Regions from separate parts of the Homo sapiens genome. Here all the other regions are linked to region 1. The links are contacts of gene promoters, found by promoter capture Hi-C in blood cells and fetal thymus (Javierre and others, 2016). All regions are on one chromosome and are shown on one strand. The core of a region is centred on a gene start or on the middle of the fragment in contact, and the rest is flanking DNA. Distances in the headings are between cores, read along the strand shown.

Region 1 (3,485 bases), core at 241-2,740:
ATAAAGGAAGATGTTGGCAAGGAATACAGAAAAAAGTATGAAACAGAGACTACTGGAGGTATTCAAGTTGGAAAATGCAAAGTGTCCCTTTTTTTTTTTCACATCAACAACTTACGTTTATGCTAATCTACTTAAATGTTAAGTCTGGCCAAGCAATTAGACTATTTAACCTTGTTTGGAGTTAAATGCAGACAGTGTGTGAGACTGTGTTCACAGTACTGTATTACGTCTTTAGGAAAGAGGATCTAGATTTCATTTTGTCCTTCTCAGGATTGTGTCTGCTATGCAAGCACTGGTTTTCTATAGTCTGGCTTGTAAGGCACAAGGAGCAATTAAACAGAGGATTAAGGTAAACAGGTGTGTCCCATCACTTCCCCTCTTCATACTATATTGTTCATATTCTCTGAATTTCATACAAGCTACAGTGGAAGCAGTAAGTTAACTTTAAAAAATCATAAGATTGCCCATACTTCTAGGTTATGCAAATTGATTTCTGAATAAGCCCTTGTTTGCGACATCGCTGGTAAAGGCAGGATGTTAACTTAAAGAGATGCCAGATTTTGGACTTGTTAGTTATAGGCATCAAAACCTGGAACTAGGAAATGTATTTCCACGTATTACTTCCATTATCCTACTAATGTTAGAAACAGGCAACTAACCACATCCTCGACCCCAACCATATTTCAGGAGAGGCTGGCTGAATTTTGCAATATGATTCCAAAAGGGAGTATTTGCAGGGTCTTTGAAGCTATAAATCCCCTAGGAAGAGTCTTCCCCACCTGTCAGGACCTGGACAGTGTCCACAGAGGGTGCCGGGCGCACTACCGCCACGCGGCGCTGAGGTCTGCCTCTCGGGTTTTGGGAGAGCTCTTTTTATTCTAAATTACAGACTTTGCAGCCACCGGATATCCTCGCTGCATAACTGGCAGTGGCCATGTGGCTGCACTCGCGTTTCCTGACAACCACTGCATTATTTCCACTAATATCCTGTGTCCAAGGCCTCTCGCTTGGCGACTCCTCGTTCCCACCTCCACCGCCACCTCTTCCCTCGAGGGTAATCTCTCGACCGTGGCCCAAGCGCCTCGACAAAGCGGCAACCACCCAAAAGTTCATGAAAATGCACTTGGCAAAAGTGGGCCGCTAGTCCCCGCGGACAGCTCTAAGCGACCCCGTCCCAGCCGAGGAAAGCGCCCGGGCCCCGCAGAGTGCGCGCTGCGGGGCGGGCCCGCGGCCATGTGCTCCGCGCCGGGGCGGGGCACCCGCGGGTTCGCATTGTCCACTTTCCCCCGCACCCCGCCGCGTTCCGTCCCTCCCTATCTGCGGCGCACACGCGCTCAGAGCAAGCGGCGCGCCCGGGTCTGGAGCTGCAGCAGCTGCGGCAGCGGCGGGGGTGGTGCGGCGCGGGGCGGGGCGGGGCGGGGCGGGGCGGGGCGGGGCGGCACGGGGGCGGGCCCGGGGCGAGGCAGCTGGGGCGCCAGCGAGCTAGCGGCGAGCGCGGCGAGCAACGGAGAGGAGCGCGAGCAGCAGCATGGCGGGGCTCCGACGCCCGCAGCCCGGCTGCTACTGCCGCACCGCGGCGGCCGTGAACCTCCTGCTGGGCGTCTTCCAGGTCCTGCTGCCCTGCTGTCGCCCGGGAGGGGCTCAGGGACAAGGTCAGCCTTGCGCCGCTGGGCTCGCTCTGCCTCTCCACCCCGCCCCCGCTCTTTCTTTTAGGGAACTGCTGAAATCTATAAGAGGGCGAGGGGAGGAAAGGGAAAGGGGCAGGAGGAGGAAGGAAAGCTGTTGCGATTCTCCGCTGATAACATTTTCTGACCACAGCGTCCCGTCCCGCGCCTCTCTGCCCCGTACAGCTGGAGAGCGGGGCAGTCGCGGGGCTTGGGGACCGCTAGCCGCTCGCGCCCTGGAGCCTTTGTGCGCGGGCCCCTGCGCCCCGGGCGCAGCCCCCGCTTTGTGTGGCGCGCGCGGGTGCCCCGCAGCGGCCCGGCTTCCTGCAGCTTTGTTCCCCCGAGCCTGGCCGCCCAGGGTCCACACTCCAGATGCTCGGGCTGCGGAGCCCGGAGTGCCTCGTGGGGTGTCTTCACTCCCACTTCGTCCCCCCACCCCCAGCACGAGCACCCCGAGCCTGCCTGCACGCTGTCGCCTTCGCGTCCGAGGGGCCGCCGGCTCACACCCCACCCATTGTATTTTTATCCTTGGCTCGCCCCTGGGATGGCCTCTGTTCCCAGGAGGAAAAAGAGACGTGTTTTGGTGAGGCGGGGGGCACGGAGGGACGGTAGGGGAAACAGGAAGCGTTTCTTTAGCGTGCATTAAAAACGTGGTGTATTTTTTGGTGTTCCTGCAGCGATTGAGCCGTTGCCGAACGTGGTGGAGCTGTGGCAGGCAGAAGAAGGGGAACTCCTGCTGCCCACTCAGGTGAGGACGACCAGGTGACAGGGCGGCTGTGGGTGTACGAGGGAGGAGAGGCGGGGAGGCCCCCGGTCCTCCCCACCCCCTGTCCAAGCGGCACAGGCGTTCGGGCCACTTTGCAAGGCAAATAAACGTTAGGGGCCGAGCCTGAACACCTGGCAACGGTGGCCTTCCCGGCTCCTCCCACGCCATGTGACAGGGCCTGAGGCAGGCCGGCCCCAAGTTCAGAAGGTGGGAACCCAGGCCACCTCAGCAGGGAAGCGGCCAGCGGTCTGTTCGGCCGTGGGTGTCCTGGGTGCACACTGTTCCCTAAGTGAGCTGGTGCTGTGTGGATGGCAAGTGGCTAAGAGGTTGAGGACAACAGGAGTATTGATTTCATAAATGTTAGAGTGGTATTTGCCATTAGCGTTAAGTAGCTTTGGGATGGAGATGTGACTCTCAAGGATTGTCATCTTGGATTTTCTCCAAGTGCCCTTAATTCCTGTTAAAATACACCCACTTAAGAACTTGAATTTCTGGTTTTTTTCTCTGTATGATGATATGATGATTGCGTGTAGAAAAATAATTACTGACGTTTTATTGGGAATCTGTAGCATCATAGAGGGTTTATTGCTGCAACAGATACAGTACTGCAAAGCTTTTAACTTTTACAAGAAATTCCCATTGACTGTGAAGTGTGCACATTTAAATATAATGTTGTTGACTGCCTTTCACCAGTAACGGTAGTGATCCAAAATGCATTTTTTGGGTGGGAGTGGCTTGAATTATAAGGAAATATTTAGCTTGTGTGCAGTACTTTTTAAGATGTTCATTACTTCCCACGGTGGTGGCAGCACTTAATTCTGTGTTGTGTCTTGCGGCTGTTTAGAAAAACAGGATGTCTAGCTATAACTTTACCGGAGAGGCTGTCCAGTTTTACATTTCAGTTTTCTCCCTCCTATGTGAAACATTCAGAGTGCTGGTTTTGAGATATTTAGAATATTCATTTTGATCAGGGCTAATGAATAACAGCTTCAAGGCAGAGAGGTGATTTTAGAGGAGAATTTTCCTGGACCCTCCTTGAAGGCCAGCAGCCTGAA
Region 2 (3,738 bases), core at 1,205-3,704, 620 kb before region 1:
ATGAGTCATTTACATATTTAATAGTTTTGAATTAAAATAAAACTCAGCCATGTGCTCTCTTAACCCGTGAGTGAAAACAGTATTTCAGAAGCATCATTTGACTATTTTGAATAAATTCCCTCAAGATCTTTTAAGCATCTGTTTACCTCAATTTTGGCTTACTTTTCCCCATTTATTTTTCTGAGGAATAAATAGGAAAATTGCATTTAACTCCAAATTCATTTTTCTATTTTAATAGAGATAAAATTTTATAGAGAAAATAAGTATATTAATATATTTTATAGACTAGTGAAGAGATCTCATATGTAAAACTGAATCATAACCAAAGTTTTCTGAGGTACTTTACTTATATACATGTTTCTTTTATACTTGTTTAAAATCTTATAATGGCTTTTGTTGAATGCATAATGCACTTTTAAAAGTTTAGTCTGTTACATAAAATAAAAGTGGTAGGTTATTACGTTGTCGTAACCTGGCTGGCCAGCTGGTGTCACTGTGGCACAGGCAATGAAATTACAATTTTTTTTTTTTGTTCTTGTTTGTGTTTCTCATTGCAGATATTTGATTTTTCATTTTACTTCCTTTCTTAGTCTGTCCTAAGAGAGGCCCTGGTTAGCTTTACACTCAATATTCACATCTATGTAGAGATGATTTTGTCCTAGCAATCCCTTTGCCAGCAGTTTAGTCATTGCCTCGTATGTTAATGTTTTTAGGTTTGTTCTTTTTTTTTTTTTTTTTTTTTTTTGAGACAGAGTCTCACTCTGTCGCCCCCAGGCCGGAGTGCAATGGTGTGATCTCGGCTCACTGCAACCTCCGCCTCCCAGGTTCAAGCTGTTCTCCTGCCTCAGCCTCCCAAGTAGCTGGGACCACAGTCATGTGCCACCACGCCCGGCTAATTTTTGTATTTTCAGTGGTGACAGGGTTTCGCCATGTTGGCCAGGCTGGTCTTGAACTCTTGACCTCAGGTGATCCTCCTGCCCTGGTCCCCCAAAGTGCTGGGATTACAGGCATGAGCCACTGCACCCGGTGTCTTCTTTTTATTAAGATGGGGCAGCAACAGCCAGATGTGGAGAGGATAATCATCTTAGTATTATCTCAGTTTTTTACAGCAAAAATATTTCTGCTTCTAAATAAATGCATTTTATTTAGAAAATAAAAATAAAATTATTATTTTAAGAATTATTCTTTAAAATTATTCTTTTAAAAATTATTCTTTTAAAAAAGAGTATTACAATTTAATCTAAATAATTCAAATTACTCTGATTTGTAAACTGTGTGTAGTATTTGTAATGGATGCTGTTATAGTGCTGGTCAAAATTAATTAGAAATTTGCAACTCATACCATGAGTTTAAGAGCAGAAGCAAATCATACTAACTCCACATGGTTGAAACTTCTTGTGAATTAATTTATAGTTGGTAGATTTAAAGACATTGCCTCCTTAGACCTAGCTAAAATGGAATTTTTCCCGTGGAAGGCCCAAAACAAAAATCCACTAATGTAGGGTGTTTTTACCTATGAACACTTTCTCTAGCAAAATGTCCATACACAAACCTACCAAATTTTGCATTCAGATTTAGTGAGCTTAGGACCCCCTGAACCCTGCATAAGGGTTCTCAGGTTCCCTGAGTCTTAAGAACCCCCCACCTGTAAGTTTTAAGTGATATCACAGAGTATTCGTTCAGTAGAACTACCTTAGAGATCTCGGAGTCTCACTATGTTATTTTATAGTGGAGAAAAAAGGCCCTTGAAGTTGTTATGGAATTACCCAGTATTAATTAAATAGCTGTACCAAAAGCTTATGTGATTTGACTATAACTGCAGTGAGTGCAAGAGCGCTCTCTTTCATTACCTTATTTCCAGGGTTTGGTAACAGTTTTTGGCACTTACTACCAAAGAGGGCCTTTCAATAAATGGTGAATAAATGAATGTTTATTCACGTAAGAACGAGGACGAGGACTAGAAACCAGATTTTTAGACTTCTCTGAAAAACCAGGGAAGAGATATTGTAATCTTATATTTGATACATCTTGTGTCCTTAATTTCCCTGCATGTGGTATTTGGGTTTGTGAGTGTGAGTCTTTGTTGTTATAGTTTTATTTTTAATGATTTTGTTGAGCTAAGTCGTTTCTTCATTCCCTTGTACTTAGCAGTCTGCAATATCATACACTACGATCTGCAGAAGATTTGGGAAAGAAATACAAGAAATTGTTGGAACACTGTTCCTCCAACTCCTACCCCCACCAGTCACATGTTGTAACTTATTTATCTCCTTTTCCCAAGAGATTGGAATCACTGTTAGGTCAGAGATAGTGTGTATACACAGCACAAGTTTTGGTTCATAGTAGTTGCTCAATAAAAGAATGAATTCTAGTAAATAGACTTAAAAGTTGACATCTTTTCTCCTTCAGCCATCCTACCCTAGGGTTTTCATAGCATGTGATTACAGTTTGTCTCCATTCTATATAGGAATGCAATATAATGTTTCCACGTTACTCACACATAAAAAATGTAGTAGCTCGGTCAATGGCAATAATGATTTGATGGGGGCTTTTTCAGAGAGCCAGTTTTGACCAAATATGTATGTTGATCCCTTTTAGAGGTATGGCAAATGGTTTTCAAGGATTGTTTAACCCATACAAATCTAGATTCATTTTAATACTGTTTGCTTTTCAGCTATAGGCTATACTTTTAATACTATTACTACAAATTAAAATTTTAAGTATATTTTTAATATACACATACATTAAATTAATTCTGGATTGAGAGTCCTGTTGAAAATACAATTCATAATGAAAGGTTGAAGGCTTATCTGTCTTAATTATAATCTGAGAGTGTGCCCTTATTTATAAACAAAAGCTATTAGTAATATGTTTTTTTTTATTTCTTGGAGGAATTTTGTTGAAAATACAATTCATAATGAAAGGTTGAAGGCTTATCTGTCTTAAATTATAATCTGAGAGTGTGTCGTTATTTATAAACAAAAGCTATTAGGAATATGTCGTTTTTAAATTTTTTGAAGGAATTATTTTGAATGTAGATACATATAAATATTTCCACAGTGATAGTATGTGAATGAATTCAGTATTTCTTTGATGCAAGTTGGTACATGATTCAAGCTTTTGAACTACTTAGAATCTAGACTAAGTGGGTGAGGCCAAGAGGGTAGGCAGTGAACCACCAAAAGGTACTTGTAAGTTCTTGTTAAATATTGTTGAATGAATGGGAGAGAGGGAGAAAAGAAGATTGAAATTGTGTGTCTGTGGCAGGCAGGTGTGTGTGTGTATGGTGGTAAATGGAAAAAAATCAATAAAAATGTTAGATTTACTCTCTTGATTAGATGGAATAAGATACAGGAGGATATTGTGATCATAAAGTGAGTTATTAAACTTATTTAAAGTGAGAATCTAGAAGTGTTGCTTCCGAAGTGATGACAAGGTCTAAGAGTGGCAATTTGAGTTTAGGTTGCCTGAGTGGAATATGGGGTATGAAAGATGAAAGGCATTAGAAATGAAGATGTTAATGAAATCTGAGACTAAGGTGTAGATTGGGTTATACTAAGTCTAAAATGTCTTTTATCTGCCCTGACACTTTTTTGGCATGTTGTCCAACTACAGATTCCCAAACCTGATCCAGATTACCAATTTTACGCATTTCTGCAAGTATACGGAGGGAAAATAAAATCACATACCTTTACATATCATTATTACTATCCCCTGTCATTCTGCATCAGCATAGGT
Region 3 (3,430 bases), core at 549-3,048, 680 kb before region 1:
ACAGGTTTTGTGTGTGTATGTGTGTGTGTGTTTTCCACTTAGGCAGTATCTTGTTGAAGTTAGTGAAAACAGGTGTGTATGTGTGTGTGCTTTCCCAAACTGTGCAAAGGAGATATATAGCTTCTTGATAGATTAAAACCACCACTTAGGCAGTGTCTTGTTGAAGTTAGTGAAAACAGGTAGGGGTGTGTGTGTGTGTGTGTGTGTGTGTGTGTGTGTGTTTTCCCAAACTGTAAATTGTTTGCTTTGGGACCAAGGAAAGGAGAATGCAGGGATTCTTCTAGTTTGATATTGAAATCTCTCCTTTAAAACATTAGTGTTTCTAAATTCCTTCCTAGACTTACAGAAGGAAATGAGGCTGCCCACTTTATTTCCTGATTTGTGGTTTTGAGGTTTCTTCTTAGGGATAGCTGTTTGTGGTCCATGCTCTGGAGATCCAGTGGATTTACAAACTGATGTGCCTATCTTTAATATGTATTAAATATCACCAACCAACTAGGCACAGTTCAGAGTAAAAAATTTAAATTCTAGTTGTATTTTGCTTTCATTTTCTTAATTTTTTTTGCTTGAGGCATGTACCTTAGGATTTGATTTGGCTTTGCTATGAAAAACAAACAAGATGTTTCAGTGGTGTGGTCCTTTGGAATGTTGTTGCTTATCTTGACATCCCCTTTCCCTCCATTCTGTATGAGATATTTTAATGATTGTTTCTCTCTTGTGAATACGTTAGTATCCTTCCAAGCTTAATGTAAGTTTTAGAGTACATATTTGAACTTACTGATTTGGTTGTGAATTATTTGTTGATTGAGGGTTGCAGTTCTAAAGGTCTGATACTTTTTTTTTTAGAATGTTAACTTGAAGAGACCTATACAGCTCATCATAGTCTATCATGAGTATCCAGTTTCTTCTGCTCACAGAATAAGTTTTCCTCTGTCTAGCAACCTCACTTGGGGGAGCAGTCAACATAAGTTTATAGAGAATAGCGTATGCTAGGCTGGGCACGGTGCCTCACACCTGTAATCCCAACACTTTGGGAGGCTGTGGCGGGTGGATCACTTGATGTCAGGAGTTCAAAACCTGGCCAACATGGTGAAACCCCATCTCTCCTAAAAATAAAAAAATTAGCCGGGTGTGTGTTGCATGCCTGTAGTCCCAGCTACTTGGGAGGGGCTGAGGCAGGAGAATCGCTTGAACCCAGGAGGCGGAGGCTGCAGTAAGCCAAGATCCCACCACTTCACTCCAGCCTGGCCAACAGAGTGAGACTCCATCTCAAAAACAACATCAACAACAGACTAGCTTATGCTAAATTAGTTTCCTTTTAAGGTAATGACAAATTCGGAAGATATTTTATATCTAACACTGTAACAGTTACATTTATTTGCTTACCATGTGCATTAAGCTAAGTGCTTTACATTATTATCTCAAATGATAACCTTATAAAGTGGCTAAAGTCCTCATTTCTGTAGGTGAAGAAAATAAAGCTGAATGATTAACTGAAGCTAAAGTAGTCTGCTCAGAATTGCGCTGGTGGAGCCAGTGCATGGCTCCACCTACGTTGTCTGACTCTAGACTACTACTGTAGACAACTTCTACCATGCGTCCATTATGTCCTTTTTGAAATGAGTTGGAGATATATCACCTGACTTTCTATCAGGTGTTGAGAAAAGGTTGTTTCCTTTCTTAATCTTCAGTGGATGAACATCTGGTTGAATATCATACTGAGAAGTTTGACAAAAAAGTGAATTTGGTGGAGGCAGTTGGTAGGGGTTTCCTATGGGGATGGATATAAGTCTCTGGTGTGTGTGTGTGTGTGTGTTAGAACACACACACCTACTTGAAATAAAGAATTGTAAGTATTATAAATTCTTGAAATGAAGATTCAAATAATAAGCAGATGGTGTGTGTGTATATGAGGAGGGGAAAATGTGAAAATGAAGATTATAAGTAATAAACTGGGCATTGTAAGAGTCTGGAAGTATAAATAAATTTTAGAATAATACATTTGGGATGGAAAGAATAAATTCAGAATGGAAGAAGGAGTAAATTAAACAGGAAACTTTAATATGGTTATGGATGAAAAACTAAAATATTTGTACAGAATGGAAAGTGAGTTGTTCCACTTAATATGGAAGTTGATGACTTAGGATCATGACAATCTAAAAGTCAGATATGTAGCACTACTTCTGGATGTATGAAAAAGACTATTGGCCTGAAAATAATTTTGTTTTCCTTGATCTTTAGTAGCTTTTGGCAGTCATGGAAGCTGCCGAATGGCTCTTGCAGATTAACAGATATTCTTTATGAGACAAAAGTATTTATTTTCTTTTTCTTTTTCCTTTATTCCTATTCTCCTCTTTCTCCCATCTCTCATTCCATTCTCCTCCATTCCTTCTAAGCCTTTGTCTTAGGATGGGCATAGGCAGGTGTTGCTCAAACCTTTAGTTGTTCCTGAAAAAGGAATATAAAGTCTCTTTATGAAATACACTTTTTTCCCTTAATGAACATACTTATTTAAGTGAATGCTGTTTTTCAGAGTAGGCAATCTGCTTTGAAATCTTCTTCTAGTATGACTGTCGGTTCAGATTGAGACATACAAAAATGAAGTTCTTGCCTGGCTTCGTCACTTCGTGACCTCAGTCACCAGAATCTGAATAACTTTGGGTATTTGGAAAAAATCAGATCCTCTCTTGAAAGACAAAGATTTGGGGATCTGAAGGTAGTTGCAAAACAGGCAATTGCTCAAATCTTTTGTGAAAATATGGCAGTGTCTTTACCATGTTCTCACCTAAGATAAGAATTTATATTTTATTTTTGTATATCTGTGATAGCATTGGACTAGCAGCTCCTTGATGTTGAAGCTTGAGCCTCATTGGTCCCTGGGGAACAGTGACATACTGCCTTTGGAACAGGATCATAAAAGCAGCAGAGTTAGTGGTAAGCCCTAAATCTTCCAGAGGAGGGAGTCAGTTCGCCAACTCCAGTTTCTGCTAGCCTGAGATACTCATCATGGCACACATAAAAAATGATTATAATTGTATGGCAGACTAGAGCCAGGCCCTCCTTGGTTCCTTGGAAGCTGTGGAGTGGGGGAATGGGTCACAATTTCAGCACATCTGTAATCCATTCTTGGCACACTGTTTGGAAATCTTTGCCCTAGAGAAAAGGAATATGTTACTCTGTTTAATACCTTCTGTTTGTTTAGCATGTAATAATTTACAAAGCACTTTCACATACATCCTCATTTTATTTTTACTCCAGCCATACCAAATAGGTAGAGCAGATAACATCACCACATTAGAAATAAAGAAATTGAGATTTAGGTAAAGTGCTTTGTCCAGGGTCACATACCTAAAAAGGGATGGATCAGGAATTTATACCCTCAGTGGAAAGAGCCCCTGGGTTTAAGCCCGTGATCTGTAATCTCTAAAAT

Evidence for each region. The method cuts DNA at HindIII sites, captures the fragments that hold promoters and counts their contacts. A CHiCAGO score of 5 or more calls a contact.
Region 2: a fragment that was not itself captured here is called in contact with the fragment with the promoter of TMEM131L in region 1 in 4 of 17 cell types (total B cells, naive B cells, fetal thymus and 1 more); the score reaches 11.3 in total B cells.
Region 3: a fragment that was not itself captured here is called in contact with the fragment with the promoter of TMEM131L in region 1 in 1 of 17 cell types (fetal thymus); the score reaches 5.2 in fetal thymus.

What each region holds. Positions count from the first base shown.
Region 1 is chr4:153,464,870-153,468,354 of GRCh38, forward strand. It overlaps TMEM131L (transmembrane 131 like), which reads left to right and starts at 1,491. Exons shown (of 35, transcript NM_001131007.2): 1 at 1,491-1,652; 2 at 2,342-2,412. The coding sequence starts at 1,529. RefSeq lists enhancers at 952-1,131, 2,502-3,167, 2,662-2,751, 3,122-3,181 and silencers at 1,172-1,321, 1,362-1,461, 1,832-2,191. The HindIII fragment of the contact is 8,794 bases long and covers 1-3,041 here.
Region 2 is chr4:152,846,404-152,850,141 of GRCh38, forward strand. The region is part of intron 2 of ARFIP1 (ARF interacting protein 1); the gene reads left to right. Among named protein-coding and RNA genes, the nearest start is that of ARFIP1, 68 kb to the left of the region's middle. RefSeq lists an enhancer at 802-1,302. The HindIII fragment of the contact is 1,321 bases long and covers 1,795-3,115 here.
Region 3 is chr4:152,782,039-152,785,468 of GRCh38, forward strand. The region is part of intron 1 of ARFIP1 (ARF interacting protein 1); the gene reads left to right. Among named protein-coding and RNA genes, the nearest start is that of ARFIP1, 3.8 kb to the left of the region's middle. The HindIII fragment of the contact is 2,116 bases long and covers 741-2,856 here.